3 separate regions of the Homo sapiens genome follow, and regions 2 and 3 are each linked to region 1. Evidence: promoter capture Hi-C in human tissues and cell types (Jung and others, 2019). All regions are on one chromosome and are shown on one strand. Each heading gives the region's core, a stretch centred on a gene start or on the middle of the fragment in contact. The rest is flanking DNA. Distances are from core to core; before and after follow the strand shown. Region 1 holds the start of MRPS31 (mitochondrial ribosomal protein S31). Region 2 overlaps LHFPL6 (LHFPL tetraspan subfamily member 6). Region 3 overlaps LHFPL6 (LHFPL tetraspan subfamily member 6).

The links. The method cuts DNA at HindIII sites, captures the fragments that hold promoters and counts their contacts. A contact is called where the count stands out against the background at its distance.
Region 2: a contact is called between a fragment that was not itself captured here and the fragment with the promoter of MRPS31 in region 1, in 1 of the 25 tissues and cell types used here (dorsolateral prefrontal cortex).
Region 3: a fragment that was not itself captured here is called in contact with the fragment with the promoter of MRPS31 in region 1 in 1 of the 25 tissues and cell types used here (dorsolateral prefrontal cortex).

Annotation. Positions count from the first base shown.
Region 1 is chr13:40,768,898-40,773,138 of GRCh38, reverse strand. It overlaps MRPS31 (mitochondrial ribosomal protein S31), which reads left to right and starts at 1,949. Exons shown (of 7, transcript NM_005830.4): 1 at 1,949-2,154. The coding sequence starts at 2,003. RefSeq lists an enhancer at 1,891-2,060. The HindIII fragment of the contact is 6,562 bases long and covers 1-4,241 here.
Region 2 is chr13:39,412,769-39,417,009 of GRCh38, reverse strand. All of the region lies in intron 2 of LHFPL6 (LHFPL tetraspan subfamily member 6), which reads left to right. Among named protein-coding and RNA genes, the nearest start is that of LHFPL6, 190 kb to the left of the region's middle. The HindIII fragment of the contact is 3,525 bases long and covers 513-4,037 here.
Region 3 is chr13:39,562,220-39,566,460 of GRCh38, reverse strand. The region is part of intron 2 of LHFPL6 (LHFPL tetraspan subfamily member 6); the gene reads left to right. Among named protein-coding and RNA genes, the nearest start is that of LHFPL6, 39 kb to the left of the region's middle. RefSeq lists enhancers at 225-1,424, 1,977-2,477, 2,478-2,978. The HindIII fragment of the contact is 6,061 bases long and covers 1-4,241 here.

The DNA.
Region 1 (4,241 bases), core at 700-3,199:
AGTTGCTAAAGTTTATAGGAGGCCGTAGTTTTGGACAAGCTTCCTGTACTAGCCCCCAGCACACCAGAGCAAACCAGAATAGTCACTTGTGCTAAGTGCCAAGTAATCAAACTGAACTTTGAAATCAGGGCCAGTTTTCCAAAAGCAGGAGATTCACAGCACCAATCAGAGGGGCCCTAGTTTACCTGAGCCAGCATGACAAGGAATCCCTCTGTTTTAACCCTATAAGGAAGGTAACTTTGAAATGACCAATCTGATTTTTGTTCCCTGTTTCTATTTTCTTCAACTCTTTTGTGCTTGTAAAGCCAAACCCCTCTGCTCAACTCACTGGAACACTATTCTAGAATCACAAATAAAAACCAATTATGCTAAATTTGCCATAATTTTGTTTTTTGACAAAGTTATGCTTTAATTTTTGTTTGTTTTTTTACAAATCAGACAAAGTAAGCATCCCCAAGTGTACTGTGTAGAGCATTCAGTCACAAAGGTTCTGTTAGTGTTAGTGGATCTCAGGAAGATCTGCTCAATGTAAGCTGTGTTTTAGTATCACAAAAACTCACCTCCCCACCTTGATTATTTTTTGAGAGGACAGGGAAAATGTTGATGTAAACTTTGGAATGCCTTTATGGAATTTTAGGCTAGTGGTTCCCATGTGTCCTATTAGCCAACATTTCCCACCAGATTTATTCTCATCCCCTTCCAAGTTTGGGAACCCCACATCTCTTCTGGGGTCACAGTTCCCTGTTTCATGAGGGACAGGTAAAAGCCAAGTCTCTCTCTTGCATCTTTTCATCCTTTTTTTTTTTTGAGACGGGGTCTCACTCTGTTGCCCAGGCTGGAGTGCAGTGGCACAATCTTGGCTCACTGCAGCTTCCGCCTCCCGGGTTCAAGCTATTCTCCTGCCTCAGCCTCCCGAGTAGCTGGGATTATAGGCACTCGCCACCACGCCAGGTTAATTTTTGCATTTTTAGTAGAGTCAGGGTTTCACTATGTTGACCAGGCTGGTCTTCACCCCTGGCCTCAAGTGATCTGCCCGCCTCGGCTTCCGTAAGTACTGGGATTACAGGTATGAGCCACTGTGCCCCCGGCGTAAATCTTTTTTTCTTTTCTTTTTTGTTTTTTTGAGACAAAGAATCTCGCCCTGTAGCCCAAGCTGGAGTGCAATGGCGCGATCTCGGCTCACTGCAGCCCCCACCTCCCGAGTTCAAGCGCTTCTCCTGCCTCAGCCTCCCCAGTAGCTGGGATTACAGGCGCCCGCCACCACGGCCGGCTAATTGTGTGTGTGTGTGTGTGTGTGTGTTTGTATTTTTTTTTTTTTTTTTTTTTTTTAGTAGAGATGGGGTTTCACCATGTTGGCCAGGCTGGTCTCGCACCCGTGACCTCAAGTGACCCACCCGCCTCGGCCTCCCAAAGTGCTGGGATTACAGGCGTGAGCCACCGTGCCCGGCCATAAAGCTATTTTTGAAAAATGAAACCTATGTCTCATTTTGACTCTACATCAAAAATAAAGACTGAAAGGAAACGCTAATTCATAGGGCAGCAGGTCTTTTAGTAATTTTTTTTAAACCTCTTTGGTGGCCATGGCGCATTTTGAGAACGTGGTGAACGCTGTAGACCCTTCCCCTCCAAACATCGCAAAATATTGTCTGTTAAAGAAGAGACTGATCTCACTGGCACCATCTGTAGTTTTTGCACAACTGGTCACGCCCTCCACTGTCGGGTTCGCCGGTCTGGGACCCGCCTCGGCCAGCGAACCTTTGCTGAACTCTGGCGAGGACTCCGCCTCTAGGACTACAATCGCGGGGTGGGTCGGGTCGCTTGGAGGCAACTGGCTCCGCCCGGCCGCGGGCGAGTCCGGAACACAGTTACCCGCCCCTGTAGCCCACCGGAGCGCAAAGGGGGAGGAAGGCGCCAGGCCGGAAGCGGAAGAGAGGGCGGGGACGTGTTTGGCAGCGGGACGCACCATTTCAGTTGTGTTCTTGGTTCATTTCGTGTCTCGGCGATGTTTCCTAGAGTCTCGACGTTCCTACCTCTTCGCCCCCTTTCCCGCCACCCTTTGTCCTCTGGAAGCCCGGAGACATCAGCGGCTGCGATTATGCTACTCACTGTTCGGCACGGAACAGTCAGGTACCGCAGTTCAGCGCTGTTGGCCCGGTAGGTCCTCAGGCAACCCCGTGCCCCGTCCTGTACATCCTCCGACTTCCTGGGGTCGATGTTACCACCTGCTGGGTCTTAGAAGCTATTGCTTTAAATCTGAGGAAAGAGAAATCCCAGAAAGAAAAGATGACTTGCCCAAGGTCATAGTGTGCGTGAAAACAGAGCTACGATTACAAACCTGGTCGCTGTGCTCTACTACACGCCGCGCCTCATTCCTCTTGTCATCATCTCCTGTCAGTTTACCCAGGTTTTTATCTTTTGCCTCCCAAGATTTATTTGATAGTCTCATTTGTTTTCCTTCATTTATTCTTTAGTTCATTACTGAAAAACTCGAAAAACAGCGTGCCAGTACTGGTTGTAAACCCCAAGTGAGACAGTCCTGCCATCACGGAGCGTGTAGTTCCAGAAAGTAGACAATTCAAGTGCTATGTAGTGAAGTAATAGCTGAGATAGTGTAGGTAAACAGAGTACACTATTCAGCCAACATGAATGAGTACTTGCTGGGATAGCAAATAGGGACACCTAACCATTATAGGGGAGACTCAGGATATCGTTTCTGGAAAAGTCTGACGAAATCTGAAGGAGGACCACTGGTTGAAGTTAGCCAGGAAAAAAGGGAATTGTGGCATACTTGGTTTTGGTATTTATCCTCCGAGAACTTTATTATGAAAACCTAATTCCGCTGCATAAATTCCATGCGTAACACTCAGAAGGCAGTTTGGTTAAGTACAGTGCTGAAGCAGGTTAGTAGCAGTGAAGATGGGAAGGACCAGCTGAATGGAGGAGAAAAATTGCACAGGTAGAATTAAAGGGATGTGACGTCATGGGATAATGGTAGGGTAGTCAGAGATAGCAAAAATTTCAACTGGCTGCGTTGGAGTATTAGGGTATCCTTAATGTTAACAGAAGAATGCGGAGCCAGGCTTGAGAAAGATTTTTCCATATATTATAATTTTTAGAAAACAACAAATACCTGTTTATGTTAGGGGGCCTTTTAATATAGAAAGTGTGAAAAATGGAAAGTCAGTCTGAAAGAGGAGTCTTGAATGTGGTGTTGAAGGTGTTGCATTTGAAGTACTGATGAGCTGCTGTCAGTGGAAACAAACTCAGGTGGGAGGTTAGGTCGAGAGGTTTATTATTTTTAGTGCTAGGGAGTTACTTAGACGTGATTTTCCTATAATGTAGATTGTTTTCTGTGGTATGATAGCAGTCTTGAAAGAAAACATTGTAGTAAAGATTACATGTGAGATTCATTCCCCTGATTACCACTTTTCTATTAAAATACCTTGAATAGTAACTTTAAATGTAAAATAATGACCATTTTCTTAAATAGATTGTACCATATATTGAATATTATAATGAGAGTCCTGTGTACTGATTATGAGGATACTAGTTATGCAGTTGGTTTTTTATTCTAATTTTTAAGTGCCTGATTTGATAGCCTCTGACGTTTTCATAAGCAGATCAAATAGTTTCAGCATTTTTTGAAATTGCCATTTTCTCTTTCATGTAAGTATCCTTAACCTGCGGCTGCCATTTTCTGGCTTTGAGAACTTGATAATATATATATATATATATATATATATATATATATATATATATATATATGGACAGAGTCTTGCTCTGTCGCTTAGGCTGGAGTGCAGTGTGTGATCTCGGCTCACTGCAACCTCTGCTCCCTGGGTTCAAGCGATTCTTCTGCCTCAGCCTCCCAAGTAGCTGGGACTACAGGCACCCACCACCACACCTGGCTAATTTTTGTATTTTTAGTAGAGACTGGATTTCACCATATTGGCCAGGCTGGTCTTGAACTCCTGACCTCATGATCCGCCCACCTCCGCCTCCCAAACTGCTGGAATTACAGGCGTGCACCACCATGCCCAGCTGAACTTGATACAATATTTAACCCAGGGTCTGATACAGGCTCTTGAGCTCACCTGCATGGGAATCACCTGGGGTTTAGTTAAAATGTTAAATTCCAAACTAAGAATTGTGTTTTAAGTCAGCTCCCTATGTGATTTGTATAACCTGTAGAGATTCATAACCACTACTTTAACTTCTGTGGGCAACAGTTTGTACTGTAA
Region 2 (4,241 bases), core at 1,026-3,525, 1.4 Mb after region 1:
GGCAGGCTAGAAGAAATCTGCAGATGACATTTTAAAACAAAAACATGTTCATGTTTAAGAAGAAAACCCTTATGTGATTGTACAAGATGTATTCATTATTCAAGTACCTGTGACAAATGTTCATATGCCTATGGTAGACAAGAAGATAAAAATAGGTGCTGGGACTAGCAGAACTCAGGTTTTAACAACTTTAGGAGGAAAATTTGATTTGCATGCCATTTACAAATTTTTTCTACCACCTCTGACATCAGAATTATAAATGTTTAAAAAACTGCACAATGACTTTATAACTTTCCTGTATTTGATTTATGTTCACACAAACTGTAAAAGAGAGAAAGCTAGCACTTTCTCTTTTCTCTTGCAATTACATACTGCATTCACACATTAAGTACATGAAACTGATACCACTGTTCTCCAGCTGCAGACTTTTGACTTTATTGCCCAAATATTCAGAGGTTGTATGGAAAAGGAGCTCAAGGTAGGGGAAGGGAAAAGGCATTTTATTCTCTACCTTTTTGTCCTTTAAACTGTATGATCAAAAGTATCATTGTGTGGCACCACAGTTGGGGAAAACATAGAGTAAATGAACTGGAGAATGAATTGGCCTAATATAATGGAGTTTCATGCCTCCTCTTTTTTTTTTTTAACATATTAAGGTTCATTCATTCAACAAACATGTGCTAAGCATCTGTAATATGTCTGGCATTGTTCTCAACCCTTGGGATACATTAATGAACAAAACAGATAAACATATCAGCCCTCCTTGGGTTTATATTCTAGGGCTTGATCATTGAGTCAATAGAACCTGATTCAAATTGTTCAGATTATTTTTCCCCACATAGTCTTACTACTCTTACTCTCATCAAAGACGTCAGTTCATATTAATTTTCTTTACCATTTCTGTTGCAATTTACATTTGCTCAGTACTCTAACTTCAGTCGTTACCCAAGGAGACTGCATAATCTCATTTCTTGGACATTTCTTCATTTCACATCCATTCTGTCATTATACACTTGCTATGGACAGAGAATCTAGGGGTGATGTCTGAAGGACCTTTCTAGTCCTGATTCTGCAAATATCTAAGCATCAAATGTCTACTCAAGGTAGGTAAGTATTGTTTTCTTTCTTTCTTCGTAATGTATTGAACAAAGTTCAAGGAGGCAAACTGGCTGCAAATGAGAAAGGCTTGAAAAGTGTCAAGGTTTAGACTTCTCACTTTGAATTCAGCACTGAGACTATGAAGCTTTGCTGCTTGTTGTATTTATTCTCCCATTCATTTATGCATTTATTAATCCTTCATCCAGTACACCTTCGGTTACTGCAAAACTATGAGCCAGACACTGCCCCAGCTGCCAAGGGGAGCAAAGATATGCCAGAAAGCCACTGCCCCCTGGAGTTCAGTCTGGTGGGGCACCGGGATGCTTCTTTGCAAGCACAGTTCTTAATTTCAATTCATGAAGGACTTAAGTGTTTCTTCAGCTTGCTTTTGTTTTTTGTTTTTTTTTTTTTCAGTATTTTTATGGCAAGCTGTCTTTGCCAGCAGAGGAATACACTATTAACATGTTGAACACAGACCTGAGTTCTTCCACATGTGCGTATGCATACACATGCATGTGCATACACATGCACAAAAATTTGTTTTTCCTCAACTTTGCTGAACTACTTTTCCTTCAGTTATCGGCTGAGGCAATATAGTAGTATGCAAGCTTTTCAGAAATCCAACGGGATTCATGCCCAGCTGAGTTATTTCACTCTGCGTTCTGTGTCAGTTCCTGGAAATTAACAATAGAGCATTTCACTTTGGTCTTTGATCCCACCAGCTCAGTCATGGTATTTTTCCAGATGTTTCCGTCTTAGGTTGCTATTACAAAAAAGCACAGCACAAGTTAAACTAGGACAAGTTGGCCTGTCCTGGGGTCTGAGGAATGTGTTTTCCACCAAATAAACTGGTCATGTGCCACAGACGGGTTAGAAAGGGAAACTCAGACTTTATAATCAGAGTGATCCTTTTCATTGTGTGTTTAGGAAAAAGTACCATGTCCACCCCCAGTAATTTGACTCAAGACCCTGTAGCTTCTCAAAGACATTGATTTGGCCTGGTTCTAGTAAAAATGATTTGTGTTTTGAAATAAGTTACCATGCTATTTTCTCTCAGGTTAATTTACCCTAGCCTGTATAATACTCTTAGGGGTCTAAATGCCAACAGGCATAGGAAAAAACCTCAGTTGCCAGTAATTATATCATTTAGGTGGTTGGGCAGAGATAAGACAAATAATTGGTGTTATCATGCCTTCTATCCAAGTTTTGTAAGCAAGAATTTCATAGCATGTTTTAACACAAATGGCAAAAAAAATAAGCCCACAGCAGCTTGAAGCATTATATGTGAAATTTACTAAACTAGAAATAAGAAGAAGAAGTGAAAACAGTACCCCAAGAAAGTCCCAGAAGACTGATAACACCAAATGCAGGGGCCCTTGCTCTACCTCAACTCCAGCCCAAATCCACCATGAAGACTCCCTCAGTTGTCCTGAAACACATGCCCTGAAGCATAATGTGGTATTATAAAATAAATTTCCTGAAAAATGACAAGATAAGCTTCTAATGAACTGTGGCTAAAATCTGATACTGGAAAGAGGAAGATGGAAGATGGAATTAGGAAGATGTTGTGTGAATGTTGACACATATTCTCACAGCTAATGCTTATTTTATTAAGCATTTCTCATTTGGTTTGTGCTACTACTAACTCATAACATTATTTATTGAGCTTGATTTCCAAATAGGTAATATCTTTCTAAATGCTTTTATACCCTGTGATCTGGCAATTTCACCCCTCCATATAGTCCATACAAAAATGTATAGATATGTGAATGAAACGGCATATGAGAATGTTCCCAGAATTATTTTTTTGAGCAATCAAACACTGGAAATTGTCCAAATGCCTATGAACAGTAGAGTGGATAAATTGTGGTATATTCACATAATGAAATGCTATGCAGCAATGAAAATAAACCAATTCTAATTATACTCATCACTATGGATGAGTCTCGTAAACATAAATTTGAGTCAAAGAAGCCATAGCAAAAGAGTCCATAATTTATGATTCCATTTATTTAAGTACAAAGAGAGGCAAAACCAATCTATTTTGTCAGGAGGTAGGATAACCCTTGGGAAGGGGTGGTGATTAAAAAGGAATAGAAGGAAGGCTACTGGGGTGCTGGTTGATTCTTTTTAATGTTTGTAAAGTTTACATGGTGTCTTCAGCTTATGAAAATTCCTTGAGCTCTGACCTTATATGTACACTTGTCAATATGCATGTTAGAGTTTAATACACTTGTGCAAATGCAAACATATGTTCACTTATTAAAGACAGCAACACAACAGAAAAATTCATTTAAAACTTACTTAAAGAAAAAAAAAAAAAAAACTAGTCGGTTGTGATGACACACGCCTGTAGTCCCAGATACACAGGAGGTTGAGGCAGGAGGATCTCTTGAGCAGAGAGGTTGAGGCCAGCCTGGGCAACATAGTGAGACCCACCCCCCCTACCCCCAATTCCTAAAAAAAAAAAAAAAAAATCCTGAGTAGTTTCGGGTTTGACATTTAAATAAGAACATAATTTACGAATATTTTAATCTTATTTTCCTACTTTAAAGATTAGGATATTTTCCTGAGTACATATCAATGTGGATACATTTCATAGTTATTATTTGACCACAGGCTCTGAAGAATTGGCATAAAATATTGCATAATACAAGTATGTTAAATTGGATTAAAATGAATAACAAATGCTATTTTTCCTTCGTTAAATATTCCAGATTTCTTTGATTAGATATCATCTCTCCCTCTTTTGAAAGTCCACAATATGTTGTATTTCACTTAGCGATGCATATATTGTACTACTTTGTATTATGTCTAATTTTATAAACTCCTTGGGGTAGAGTTAGGGCTCGTTCATCTTTGAATCTACTGTGATATCTGCAGAAGGCAGGTGTAATATAGTGAAGATGTTAAGAGAGTGCCTACTGGTGCTAGACATGGGTTCAGGTTCCCTTGCTGCCATTTACAATTTTTTTCTTTTTTTTTTTTTGAGACGGGAGTATTGCTCTGTTGACCAGGCTGGAGTGCAATGGTGCAATCTCGGCTCACTGCAACCTCCGCCTCCCGGGTTCGAGCAGTTCTCTGCCTCAGCCTCCCGAGTAGCTGGGATTACAGGAGCCCGCCACCACACCTGGCTAATTTTT
Region 3 (4,241 bases), core at 617-3,116, 1.2 Mb after region 1:
CTGAACTCATCATTTATTACTTCGTCAATCTCAGTAACCTTTTGTAAGTGATGCCACAACGGACAATGTATACTGAGTCATTCAGACATGGTTTCTGCTTTCTAAGGATTTATTAATATTTCAAAATGATGCTTGATGCCTAGCAAGTAGAAAAATCCAGTTGCCTTATTAGAACTTAACAAAAATGAATGAGTTAGAAAATTAGCAGTCATGTATTCCTCTGTTCTGTACAGCTAAATACAATTTCCAACTTCTTAATGAGGGGCTGAGAGTTCTGTATGAAGACTTCTACCTCCTTTTTCTGTTTTTGTTCCAACAGGATAAAATCATGTGTTTGACATGTTGAACTTGAGAGGCACATACTTGCCATAATAAGTATACATGGTTTTTCAAGTTCCTAAAAGTCCTTTCTTCATTTGTTTGAGTCTATGTTTCAGATAGATCCTAGGGCATAATAATTTAAAAATCCAATTAAACCATAAAACAAAATGTCCTTACTGTTTTTCTGTTGATTTGGTCTCTTTTTATTTGGCAGCAAAGTTTCTTCCTGTTGTTATTTCTCATGTGACTCCCGTGAACTGGTGGGTCCTGGAATCCCCACGTACAGTGGGTTGGAACCCATTCTGCCTGGGAGCCCCAGTGTAGGTGGCTGAGGCAGTGAGTCAACAGCACTGGAATTTGCTTGCTTCAGAGTGATAATTCTCATGCAAATAGTTCTCAGTTTTTCAAAAGAAGGGCTTGTCAGCCTCATACTTTCAAAGTGACTCTGCCAGGAATTTACAGTTTTACGAGATTATACATAGAATGTTCTGTTATAATAATCAAATGTTCATTCAGAAATAACCCAATTAATGCAGACTGTACAACAGATCGCCACCATTTGCACCAAAATTCCATTCAAACTACAATTCCCTTCTCCACTGTTTCTTTGGTTCTTTCCTCCTCATTCAGCAGCTTGTTTTCTGCTGTCTGATAGTTATGCCAACATTCCATCTTATTTTAACAACTACACAAATATAAAAACCACAGCACCAAAATTGAAGTTGGAGCTTCATTTTGTACTATTTAAGAACTGTATTGTCGTATGTAATTTGCAGTAAACTTGAACACAAAATGAAATTTAAAAAACCTTTCTTTTTGCCTGTAATGTTTAGAAATGATGTTCTCTTTGAACTGTACTGGATTTTTTTTTTTAAGGGTACACTATCATTCTATGATGAAATATACTGTAATTCAACTAATTCAACTGCTTTTTCTCTGTTTTATCTTTCTTGGCTTATTGTCCTCCTGGATATAAGATGATATAGATGGCAAGCTTATTTCAGGACAGTTTGTTTTTTATTCTAAGCAAATGGTAGTTTTTAAACAACAATGGTCATTTTGATCTTTGGAGATCGGTCTTCCATTCTTAGAGCATTGGAATGTAGAAGAGATGTTTATGCCTTGGGATTGCCACTCATCCAGAGCCACTCCTCTGTGAGAATACAATCTTTGATTTGTTGCCCTTTATATTTACTTTACTTCTTATTGAACGATGTCCACTATACAATAGCAAGATATAATAAGGTATAGAGACAGAGTTTACAGAACCTTGCCCCATTAGCATTTTCAAATTTTGTCACATCAGAGTTAGTATACTGCTCCAATTTTCAGAAGAACATAGCTCATTGGCAGAAGGTGGAAGTAGTGTTCTTAACCCTTTTACATAAAAGGCTACTTAAATAAGCAAACTTAATTCTTCCATCAGCTTTTCTATTTTCTTAAGTGCAAACTGACTTTATTTACCCATGGTTAGATACTTTTGACTTACATATTTCCCAAAGGCAACCAAAATGGTATAATAGCGTAGTGCAATTTTATGGGAGTCTCTTTGGCACCATAGTAATTCTTTTTGATCTACAGTTCACCTCTGGGTATGGTGGCTACGGGTGGTGCATCACAAGCAGAGTCAAAGGCCATTTTTAATGCTCTTGGGTTTTGTACTGCATGGGCCATTTTTTGAAGTTTAGAAATATGAAGATGCACATATTTGTTGCTCTGGCCCAGTATTGATATCATAGGCCAGATGGGTTTGAGATAGAGAGCACATACATATTTAATGTTCATTTTTATTCTTTATTGCCTCTAGTGGAAGGACTCCAAAGAGGTCATCTCATTTAATCTTGGCAATAGATTTTACCATTTTTTAAATCAAATACTCCCCATTAAGCACTCTATATTTATAATTGTGTGTTAGGTGCTATATTCAGAGTGTACTAAACAGACTTTATTCCTGGCCTTGACAATTTGTCTGCGGATTTGGCCAAATCTGTGCTGTATTTCTTTTGAACAAAAATAAAATGCTCCAGAGGAAAACAGCTCCCAATCTCCTGGATTTAATGACTCTCGATGGTGGGAAGCCTTCCAGTGCAATGATAATAGCAGTCCATGTTTACTGAGTGTTCACCATGGGCTCAACGTGATACGGGGAGACTTACACCATTTTTATCACCTTTGGGGGATATACAACAAGTGTCTATTCTCTCACATAACCGCCCTAGGGGATAGTGTCTATTAGCCTCATTTTCAGGGGAAAAAGCCGAGGCTCTGAGAAGAAAAGGAACGTGCCATACCTCATTCTTAATTTTGTTTTCAGTCCCCTGAGTTAGCTGGTACACTTTATGACCTGAAAGCATGAATAGAATCTGTTACCCTGGCAGGAATAATAAAACACAGAGACATGACAATGGATTAATAAAGATCTGATGAGGAGCAAAAACCTCCCAATCACCCTAAGAAATGCTGCTCCCAGGGAAGTAGAAATTATGTTCTGAGTCCCATATTTCCACTTTGCCTGCCTGTTTTATTCTTATTAGCCAAGAAGGCGTTAAAATATGCAATGATTCTGCTCTTGAGAATGCCTCTATACTGCTGACTTGTGAGCTTTTACCCTCTAAGAATATTTTTGCTCCCTTGCCTCATTATCTAACACCTATTTGATCTGTATAAGTCACTTATCAACCCACCAGACTCATGTATTCTAGTCACTTAGGAATATGCTTGCTTTTTTCCTGTGCACAAGATGTATCTCTCTATTTTGTTTCTGTCATCTGCAGATTTAGTGACTTGGGGCAGCATGGACTGTCACAGAGGGGTTTTCTTGTTTGATCCATTCTTCTACTTTTCTGCTTTTATATGATCTATATAATTTAAAGTTATTGGAATTCCAGCTCCCTTTTATTTTTAGTTTAATCCTGATTTTTATTTTTAATTTAATTAGCTCTAATTTTTTTAAAAAGACATTTTTAACATTGTTGCTTTGCTGGATAATTCAGAGATGCTGTGTGTGTGTGTGTGTGTGTGTGTGTGTGTGTGTGTGTGTGTGTGTGTTTCTAGTATTGCCCCATGACCTTTATGACTCATTTAATGAGGAATTTAAACAAATTACTATTACTCCTACTGCATTCATTATCAACTAGCAGGCATCAGCTTTCTGCATAAAATATTTTTTTTCTTTGAATACCCTCTATTTCCCCTCTGTGAGGAATTTATTCTCCCCTTGGTGCATGGGGACAGATTATGTTCATAATAGCCATTAATGATAATAGGAAGAGTGTGTAAATCTTTGAAGCATTGAAAACTGAATGGCGCTCTGGTGGGTCTTTTTCTGTGTCTTACCTTACTAGATTTTGTTTTGCAGCAGGTGCTATTGGTTGGGTAAAGTGCCGTTCCTCATGTTTTTCTCTTTATTCTATACACGTAGTGTGTGTGTGTATATATATATATGTGTGTGTGTGTGTGTATATATGTGTGTATATATGTGTATATGTGTGTATATATGTGTATATATATGTGTGTATATATGTGTATATATGTATATGTGTATATATGTATATATGTGTATATATGTATGTGTATATGTATGTGTATATATGTATATGTGTATATATGTGTATATGTGTATATATGTATATATGTATATATGTATATGTGTATATATGTATATGTGTATATGTGTATATATGTATATATGTGTATATATGTATATATGTATATATGTATATGTGTATATGTGTATATATGTATATATATGTATATGTATATATGTATATATGTATATGTATATATATGTATATATATACACACACACACACTCAGAACATGGTTCTTCTCACACTGGAAGAGGATTACTCTTTATTTGTTGGTGTCTCCATGAGGGCAGGAGCTGATTCGATTCATTTTCCTCTCCATGTTTAGTACTG